3 separate regions of the Homo sapiens genome follow, and regions 2 and 3 are each linked to region 1. The links are contacts of gene promoters, found by promoter capture Hi-C in human tissues and cell types (Jung and others, 2019). All regions are on one chromosome and are shown on one strand. The core of a region is centred on a gene start or on the middle of the fragment in contact, and the rest is flanking DNA. Distances in the headings are between cores, read along the strand shown.

Evidence for each region. Contacts are between HindIII fragments. The study calls those that stand out against the background at their distance.
Region 2: a fragment that was not itself captured here is called in contact with the fragment with the promoter of RPL37A in region 1 in 2 of the 25 tissues and cell types used here (aorta and psoas muscle).
Region 3: a fragment that was not itself captured here is called in contact with the fragment with the promoter of RPL37A in region 1 in 1 of the 25 tissues and cell types used here (neural progenitor cells).

The regions. Positions count from the first base shown.
Region 1 is chr2:216,497,056-216,500,306 of GRCh38, reverse strand. It overlaps RPL37A (ribosomal protein L37a), which reads right to left and starts at 1,463. Exons shown (of 4, transcript NM_000998.5): 1 at 1,430-1,463; 2 at 909-1,037; 3 at 276-358. The coding sequence starts at 1,432. RPL37A-DT (RPL37A divergent transcript) reads left to right here and starts at 1,555. Exons shown (of 4, transcript NR_183317.1): 1 at 1,555-1,700. RefSeq lists enhancers at 1,387-1,776, 1,957-2,046. The HindIII fragment of the contact is 7,301 bases long and covers 1-3,251 here.
Region 2 is chr2:217,690,455-217,693,705 of GRCh38, reverse strand. The region is part of intron 2 of DIRC3 (disrupted in renal carcinoma 3); the gene reads left to right. Among named protein-coding and RNA genes, the nearest start is that of DIRC3, 98 kb to the left of the region's middle. The HindIII fragment of the contact is 5,266 bases long and covers 1-3,251 here.
Region 3 is chr2:217,620,146-217,623,396 of GRCh38, reverse strand. All of the region lies in intron 2 of DIRC3 (disrupted in renal carcinoma 3), which reads left to right. Among named protein-coding and RNA genes, the nearest start is that of DIRC3, 170 kb to the left of the region's middle. The HindIII fragment of the contact is 3,436 bases long and covers 1-3,251 here.

The DNA of each region.
Region 1 (3,251 bases), core at 214-2,713:
GCACAGTATCATGACAATGTTCACAACAATGTGCCCAGTGACCATCAAATTCTAAAGTAGTCTGTGAATTAGATTTCCGACTTCTATTTTGGTAGTTTTGTGTTTACTCTTTCAATAACTGAAAATAAACCACCACGGAAGAATCCTGAAAATACAAAGGCATCCTTATTCTCTCAGTCCTGAGAAAGTGTTAAAACTAGCCCATCCAGCAGCAACCTGGAATTTGGGCCTATGTGGTCCACACACTTCCAAATACCACAAGGAACTAGACTCACTTGTACGTCCAGGCACCGCCAGCCACTGTCTTCATGCAGGAACCACAGTGCCAGATCCCCACAGCTCGTCTCTTCATCTTGGTCTATAAAAGAGAACCAATTTTCACTATGAACCAAGTAAGTATTTTCTCTTACAAGCATCCAGAAGTCTAAATTTGGATTCACCTTATTGTCAGGGATGTGAAAGCCTCCCTTTCTCCCTCAAAAACAAAACAGGGATTGCTGTAATGCAGTATTTTGCACATAAACGTTCAAACCTTTATCAAACAAAAATCCCTCGCAGAACAAGTAGAATGGTATTAGATGCACAGACATCTTGGGAGTTGGTGCAGAAACATCAGTAGACAAAACTGATGGAATCATTTCCCACAAAGCAGGTTTGGCTTAGGCTGGGGGCACTCTGTCAAATGATTATTTTACCCATTAACGTTTAAGCGGTTTTCTTTAAATGAAAAACGTCTCACAAAATCTGAAGTTACCATCAACACTTTTATCTTAAAACTCATAATCAACGGTATGAGTAATTCCAACTGCCCACCAGCACACGGCTTATAAAATACCTTGAAGTCAGGCCTCACTTGGGTAAGAAACCTGCCCTCCCTCTCCTCTCACCAGAGACTTTGCCTTACTTACTTTGCCACAGAAAGAGCAAGTGTACTTGGCGTGCTGGCTGATTTCAATTTTCTTCACCATTTTCCGGAGGGAGGCCCCATAGCGGGTCCCGTATTTACCGACGATCCCGACTTTCTTGGTACGTTTGGCCTGTTTAGAGTGAAGGGAGAAACCAGTGATAGACCTGGAACCCAGGCAGGCCCTGGAGCCTCCACACACCGTTCCTCCACCTCACTGACGTGTGACCGACATGTGAATTACATATGACCTAGTTTTCCCTAAATTCAACCCAACGAAACCAGTGCCCAGGGCTGGCCGCGCGCTCCGAAGGCCCGGCGTTAACCCGGCTGGAGCGCGCCAGGCCCAGCCAAGGCGCCCCCGCCCCTCCGCCTTGGGGAGCTTCCGACAATGGTGTCTCCTGCAAAGGCATGGAGACAGGAGAGAACACGGGGTAAGGCAGGAGAGGAGATGGGTGCGGGAGAAGAAAACAAGGACAGATGCAGGCAGATAGAGTTCTAGGCCGCACAGAGACCCACACTCACCATGTCGCCGCGACCTAGGTCCGAGCCCAGAAAGGAAGAGACGCGGTGCGCAGGCGCGGTATTAGGCGGACGAGCGGAAGTGGCTGGTAGAGGCCTAGCTAGGAACTGAGCTCTATGGTTTGGGCGTTTTCAGGCGGCCTCCTGAGAAATGTTTGCAATTGTAAGGCGTCTCTCTCATCCAGGTTTACCCAGATTCGCAAACTATGGCGACAAACAACCATAGCAGAAGCATGTCCGGATTATTTCACATATATCACAAAATCCTGCAAAGGTACGAGTTCCTCCATTCGATGCACAGCACTTGGCTTGGAGAAGTGCATAAATCTTACATTTGTGGGGCCGGGCGCGGTGGCTCACGCTTGTGATTCTAACACTTTGGGAGGCGGGGTGGGTCAGGAGTTCGAGACCAGCCTGGCCAGCAGGGTGAAACCCCGTCTCTATTCCAAATCTCATTTATTTCCCCCTCTGCATTATGCTCTCTAAAAGTGGCTGACTGTGCAGGATGCTAGCGACAGTGGTGACTAAAATCCAAGGTTCCATTCCCAGAACAAGTTGCAGGCCAGCTGCAAACGATCATATAGCCACATTAAGAAGTTAGACAGTTTCAAACTGGTCAGAGTTCTGAAGGAAAGGACGATGGTTCTGCTCGCGACTAATTCAGAAGAGCCTGGTGTTTCCTGAGGAAAGTCTGAGATTGGAAGGCTGGGGAAAAGTTAACAGTCACCTTGGAGTTTTGTGTTCCAGCTGCTGCATCTCAGTGCGGATGGCCTGCCTTCCACTTCATTTCAGAACTCACTTCCATGGCCCCACACTAGGCTGTTAAGACAGCTTCCTGGTCCAGGCCTGAACCCTTAAACTCCAACATCTTACCCTTTACCCACCGTCAATTCTCTGTCCCTCCAGGTCTCTCAAAGGGGTCAGCAGGGAAGAATTGGATTTCTGGTTGAGGCCGGGGGTGGGGAGGGTGTGTTCTGGAACTAGACACATGATCTTCTTTCTTCACGTAGAACACACACACTAGGAAGTTTGGTTGCCTTTTTTCAGGGGATGGCTAATCCAGAGAATAAGAAGCTCAGAAAACTACTGGAATAAGAGTGTAAGAGAGAATCCATGATTAGAGGGCCAAGAAAGACCATGGGAGCTGAAAGGCATTGTGTGGCCCTGATTCCAATCAGAAGTCCGGTAACAAGTAGCTTCCGTTCCCAAAGCTTAATATTAACTGTCTCAAATAATTTTGCACCTGTTCACTTTTCCTCACAATTGTATTAAAGTCAACTTGCATACCTGGGCTGAGGTGGGAAGATCATTTGAGCCTGGGAGGTTGAGGCTGCAGTAAGCTGTCATCACGCCACTGCAGTCCAGCCTGGACAACAGAGTGAGACTCTGTCTCAAAAAATATATATGAATCAAATCAAATCAAAGCAACTTGCAAACAGCTATGTACTTCATATGGTTACAATTGTTGGAGGGTAACACATGGTAGGCACTGAGTATTTTATGTGGATGTTCTCATTTAATTTTCCATTATCCTTTATGATAGGAATGATTATTATCTTCATTACTAAGAAAAAGAGAGGAAGTCTCATGTAATGATTAGGAACTTAGAGGCTCTGGATTCAGTATGGGTTCAAAACAGAACTCTGCTATTTACCAGCTGTGGGACCTCTGACAAGTTATTATATACTTTTCTTTCTTTTTTCTTTTTCTTTTTTTTTTTTTTTTTTTTTTTTTTTTGAGACAGAGTCTCTCTTGGAAAAGATTCTTTGAGACCAGGAGTTCTAGGCAGCCTGGACAATATAGCGAGACCCCATCTCCACACACA
Region 2 (3,251 bases), core at 416-2,915, 1.2 Mb before region 1:
GATCTGTTTTCTATCTTATTTCCATGCATTTCTTATCTACCCTACCAGGTTGAAAGTATTCTGAGGGCAGAACCTATGTTTGTTTCATCATCATATTCTTATCACATGGGAATTCAAAAATAGATATTTGTTGAATGAATAAATGACCTCACAATTTAGGGTCTGCGGGTTTGTGTCCACCATTTGGCAGAGAAATGTAGCCACTGATGGAAGAGATAAAGAGATGAATGAACAAACTTCATAAAGCAAGAGGCTCAAACTAGCTCCTCAATTTTCAGCTGGGGCTCCTGGAAGTCTTTCTGAGGAAAAAGGTGCATAAGTCAATCTAAGCCTCAGTTTCTGCATTTGTAAAGTCAGGGTGAAAATAAGAGAATGACAACATATACCATGCAGGTTTGTTAGTATTAGATAATGCATGTGGAGCATTTAGAAGTATTTCTGGTATATCATGAGCACACAAATTTAGTTATTAAGATTATAATAAGTAACCGGAATATAAAAGCAATATGCCCACCAGCATCCTCATCACAGTCCCTGCAGATGGATGCTTATCTTAGCTAGTCATGACATTTTTGGTAGTTAGTGACTTTAGAAGGTTCATATAGTGGTCTTTCAGCCCTGTCTTCTCAAGAAATAATCCTATGCATCACCCTTTACAGAGCTCTTTGAAGGCAAGAAACATGTCATATTCATCTCATTATCCTGCATATCTAGCACAGTATATGACATACAAAGGTGCTAAATATGCCTTTTAAAGAAATAGATGAATAAATAAATGAATCCTATTCATAGAAGGCATTGACATTAGATATTGGTTCAAAAATCATCTAGGATCGGTGGTGACTTAGTAGTGATGAAACTGAACCCAAACGCTGCCTTGGAGATCTTTTCATGCCCAGAAGTTCTGATTATGTTATGGCTCATCCTGTAATCAACAACCCTCCCCTCCCTGAAACCCATTCCAGATTTGGATCTAGCAGTGGCCTCCACAGTGAGGGGAGTGTTAACTGCCAGGCCTATCAAAATTAGTAGTCATTCAATCTGGGCTTTGGAGGGATAGTCTGATGTAACTCTTATCAGCTCCATCAGCAATGCCATGATCAATTTTAAAGAGTTGAGCTGATGTGGCTTATCAAGGGACCTTAGCTGCTATGATGCTATGGCCTGGCTTGATGCCCTCAGCCAAAGCCAAGTGTTGGGTGGGTAGCTTGGCTCTCTCAAGAGCCTGCCTGGCCCACTCTCGTGGTATGTGTCAGGGCAGCAAGAATGCATTGCCTAAACTAGGAATGTGGACCGCCTCTGAGGGCTGGAGAAAGAGGGGAATGGAGGGAGGGAGTTTTGGCTCTGATGGTGGAGCAGGAGAACTGGTTGTTCAAAGGACATGTAAACAGTCCTTGGCTCAAGCGTTCCTGCTGTTATCCATAGTTACTCCCAATCAATGTATCCTGGGTGTTGTTCTGGGGCAGGGAAAAGGTGGAGTCCAACCAGGAGCAGACTGCAAGGCACATTGCAGGTCTAGTGTGCAGAGGTGCAAACTTGGCCTAGGAATAAAGTGGTTGTGGCTCGGTTGCCATGACGTCAAGGGTGGCCTCAGTGCTTAATCTTTGGAAAGGGCATGACTCATCCCAGGGACACCTGCAGAGCCCATGTTCTCAAAGAGATACATCTTGGTTTGATGGTTGGAAAGACAGTAGAAGTCCTGTTTTCTCATCGTACCCTTTTTCCATCCAGGCAAGAAGGGACTGATAATAATCTCATTCTCATTCTTCTTCCGGTTGTTAATGAGTTTTAGCACATGGAACATTTTTAATAAGAATAGGCTCACCTCACTATGTTGGAATTTGGATTTGGAAGGCAGGGCCTTAGGGCTTTGAAATGTTTTGTAGAAAAGGCAATGCCGTGTGGGGGCTTCTCTGTTACCATGTGCCCTTCCCACTGGATGGAACAAACCACTGCACTAGAGTGACTTCAGACCACAGCCGATAAAGACACTGTGGTATAAGCTTCTGGCAATGTGGGCTTGATAGAATGAAGACTATGTTATTTCTCCTCTTTGCTCAACCACATTAACCTTCTGACATCCCTAGAATATGGTAGGCTTTTTCCTGCCTAGAGCCTTCACTTCCCTGGCCTTTGCGTGACTGGCTGGTTTTCATTCTTCAGCTTCCTGTTCAATGTCAGCTTCTCAGAGAAGCCTTCCCTGACCACTGTATGTCTAAAGTAGGCGTTCTCTCTCTACCTCCCCCAATATGCTTGTGTTAGTCCAATGCATTGCTATAAAGCAATACTGAGACTGGATAATTTATAAAGAAAGAAGGTTGTATTGGTTTTATTGGTCCTGCAGGCTGTACAGGAAGCTTGGCACCAGAATCTGCTTGGCTTCTGGTGAGGCTTCGGGAAGCTTTTACTCAAGGTGGAAGGCGAAGCAGGAGCAATCATGTCACATGGTGAGTGAGGAAGCAAGAGATGGGGGAGGTGCCACACCCTTTTAAACAACCAGCTCTCATATGAATTACCAGAGTGAGAACTCACTTATCACCAAGGGGATGGTGCTAAGCCATTAATAAGGGATCCGCCCCCAAGATCCAATCACCTCTCACCAGGCCCCACTTCCAACATTAGGAATCACATTTCAACATGAGATTTGGAAGGGAAAGACATCCAAACAATATTAATGCTCTATGACAGCCCTCTGTTTCTTTCCTCTGTGGTCCTCTTCATAACTCTAACTGCATTGATTCACTGGTTTATTATCTTTAGAGTGTGAGCCCTGTGAGGGCTGGCCTGCCTTGTACTTGGTGTATTTTCAGGATATAGGACAGACCTAGCAAACTTAAAATATTTGAGACCCTATCACGTGTACTTCAGTACTTTGGGAATTTCTGGGCATGTGAGTTAGACCTAGCCTCTTAAAGCTTAACATCTAGCTGGGAAAATAGCAAATTTTTCACTAGCACTTACAATAAGTGCTTTGAGAGAGGAAGAACAGAGTGCTGTTAGGGGAACTCTAAACAGGTCTGCAGAAGCCAGAGGAGGTTTTCTCCTGGAAGATCTAAGAACTGTGATCTGAATCAAGTAGAAATTAGCTAAAGAAAAAGGGAACTAGTTCTAGGCAGAGGGGATAGTATGTGCAAAGGCCTGGAGGTGGGAGAGACGAGGGCATTTCTGAAAACTGTTTAGTCGACTACAAGATGACAAGTAGCAATAGATGAAGACAGAGAGACAGCAGGGGCCAGAGCACAGCATGCTGA
Region 3 (3,251 bases), core at 353-2,852, 1.1 Mb before region 1:
TTTTTTCCATCAGATCTCAGCCTCTACTGGTTACCTTGAAAGCAGAAATCATATCCAGTCATCTCTTCACATGCACATCACAGAAGTCTCAGCTTGAACCAAAATAGGTGCTCAGGAGGATATTTGCAGATGCGGTGCAGAAGGGACTATGCTTGGACCATTCATGGAAGGACCTCCTACCTGATACCCTGATGCAGAAGGCTGGGGAATGATCACATTATGTCCTCTGGTTGAGTTTCAGAACAGGTGAGGGCCTTGGTTATCTGGACTGTGTTAGGGATAGACTTAGCTCAACAAAGAGGGGCTGGGGAGAATCCATGTGCCTCAGTGGAGCCCCTTTCCCTTACAGTGAGGGCCTTAAGAAGCCGAAGTGTAGTTTAAGCAGAAGCTGAGTTCTTGAGATTCTATCCAGGGGAGGTTAAGTGTTGGCCCGTTTCCTGAAGAGCCAGTGCTTCTAGGTTCTGAGAATTTGTTCCCTAATCTCTGCTTACAGGACTCCAGGCGGCTGGAGTCTGCATGAAAGGGGCCTTTGTCTGATATGGGAATGGTTTTTGGGGCTAATCTCTCCTTGGATGCATTTTAATTCACTTTAATGACTCTGCCTCCTGTCAGGCTTTTCTTCTGTGAGGGGGGTTTGTTAAAGAGATTAGGAGGAGTGAACATGAGCCCCTGAATCTCGCCTTCCTCTGAGGTTGCTGTTACAGGAAAAATAGTGTTCTGCAAAATGTATTAGGATGCTCTGGGAGCCAGTGGGGAAGGAGCAGAGTGGAGAGTAGGAAAAATATATATCTAATAAACACACTCACATATAAACACTCTGCATGTACTTACACCAAGCACGTTCACCAGCCTGCTGCCGTTTCCCCCAGCCCCCACCACCAGTGGTGGGAGTCGAAGCAGACAGGACAGAATGATGTCATCCCTAGGACACTGTCCTTTCTCTTGTCTCTCTCTCCCTCTCCTCTAGTTCTGTATAAACACAGCTGTTTGTGAGGAATGCTGGCTTGGGAAAACATAAACTGTCTGCATTAATGACCTTTCCTCCCTGCCAAACACCCCTTCCTACTGAACGTGGGAGACTGGAATGCTTTCAGCCCAGCAGGCCCATTGTCTTCATGTCTGCAACACCAGGTTTTTTAGCTTTCTGCTTGGGCCTGGGGTGACCAGACTCAGGGACCGTACAAAGCCCAGCAGGGCAGACAGAAGTTCATCAGCACTCTGGTTGCAGGTGATACTTCAGACCACCTGTGAAAGATTCCTAGGGGACTGCAGAGAGGGGAGGAGGGCGTCTCTTTTCTGGGCTTGGGGAATGCAGGGTGGAGGTTGGAGGGATAGCAGGGATCCACAGTGGATACAGGTGCTCCCTGATCTGCCAACTTTGCCCACTGGGAAGCCAAGGGGGAAGAAAATAGCAATGGTGGGCTTTGGCCCTCTACTTAGTGTCAAGCTATCGAACTGGGCATTAAGGGCAACCCCACCCTCATCATAGCAACTCACCCCAGCTTCCACTGCATTTACAGTCGCCATTTGGGACCAAGAGCCTTTTATCCTTTCAAAGAGTAGAACACAGGGGCAGCTAAAGGGAGAACCCAAGCTTGAACTCATGCAGTCCAGTTTCTTTTGAAATCCCACAGTACTGTGGTCCATAGTAATTTATTGACGGTGATTTTCCATTTCCAGATGGTGACCTTGGGGCCTTGGAGGTTAGGATGGTTTTTATTCAAGCTACTGAACTTGGCATTTTGGCTGAGTACATGTTTGCTTCCTGGCCACTTGCCCCCAGCCCAGTCTACTAAATCTCTCTCTGTGTCCCACTTTCTTACGTGGTTTTGTGACCACAGCTGCAAAGAAGTAATGACTGCTCTCTGGGCCTCCCTTTCCAAGGGTCAGGCACCTTAGATGGGGCCCAGGACAGCTGCCATTGTGGAATGAATGGGATTCAGTGCCAGAAAGGTGGGGGTGGGTGGGGAGCTAACAGTCTTCTGAAGTCTCCTCTTGGGTTTCCATGGGGAGAGAAGACAAGCCTTCACCCACGTATTCATGCTAAGTACAAATCACAGAGACATACCATTGGGCTACTGGTTACCTCTCTTGCCTACAAGTTGCCAAGAAAAATGCAGGTCTATAACCCACACTTACGGACTACCTGCTGTGTGTTGGGCAGGGTACTAGATGCTTTGCATCTGTTCCAATTTTATCCTTGCAACAACACAGTGTTATTAGGTAGTGCTATTTTATATTTAACAATGAAGAAATTGAGAAAGGTAGTTTCAGAAACACTATTCAATGAGTCAGTGATGAAGCCAGGATTCACACCACTTTGAATTTTAATGTCTATCCATTCCAGGAATTCAGAAGGAGATTGAAGAGGTAGCAATGAACACAATAAACCAGATAGATAGACAAAGGCGGCAATTGCCTGTGTGAGGTGATTTGAGGGATAAAAACAACATCCCTCACCTTCCCAAATATTCCTCTTACAGCCTGAAATCTATTACAGTCATTCCTTTGAGTTAAGCATTGCCCTCTGATTTTGCTGTGTTTTTGAATGCAAATATTTTTAGAGAGAAAATCATTTGGCAATTAAAATGCTTTATTAAAAAATCCTCATTTTCTTTTAAAATGTTTTACTTTCAATTAATTGTATTCCTTGTAAGGTAATACTTAACAGAAAGTAGTTTGTATCAGAAAAAATGACTGGGGGGGGGACCTCTTAAGGGAGTTGAGAAGTGTTAATCTTTGACATTTACTATTATAAGTGCATTTTAAGTAATTCCTAGAAACTGATAAAATCTGTTAGGAGCAAAGGATCTCTCTCTCTCTTTTTTAAGTAGTAGAAAATTGTACCCTTCTGATCTGAAAAAGAGATAGACATGGCTGTTAACTTTCTGAGATATACCCACATAATTGTAATCCCTTGGGATTCTGCTTCAAGGAAAGAAAAAGAAGGAATTTGAAAGATAGGTCGGGCTGAAGCTTCAAACATTAAAAGATGAGATGATATTGGTAAAAGCACTTGGACGAACCCTAGAGTTAAATGAATAGCAGCTATTATTATTCCTCCTAAGAATTATATTGACAATGAAGGAAGAAAATGAAAGAAATAATTTCCTAAGGCAGTATTTCCCAAGAGCTTTCTGCAGACCCCTATGTCTTGGGTTTTTAATATGTGCTACATGAATGCAGTGTTTTCTGGTTAACCACACTTGGAAAACACTGGGTTAAACAAAGTTAAGCATGTTTCTTTACTA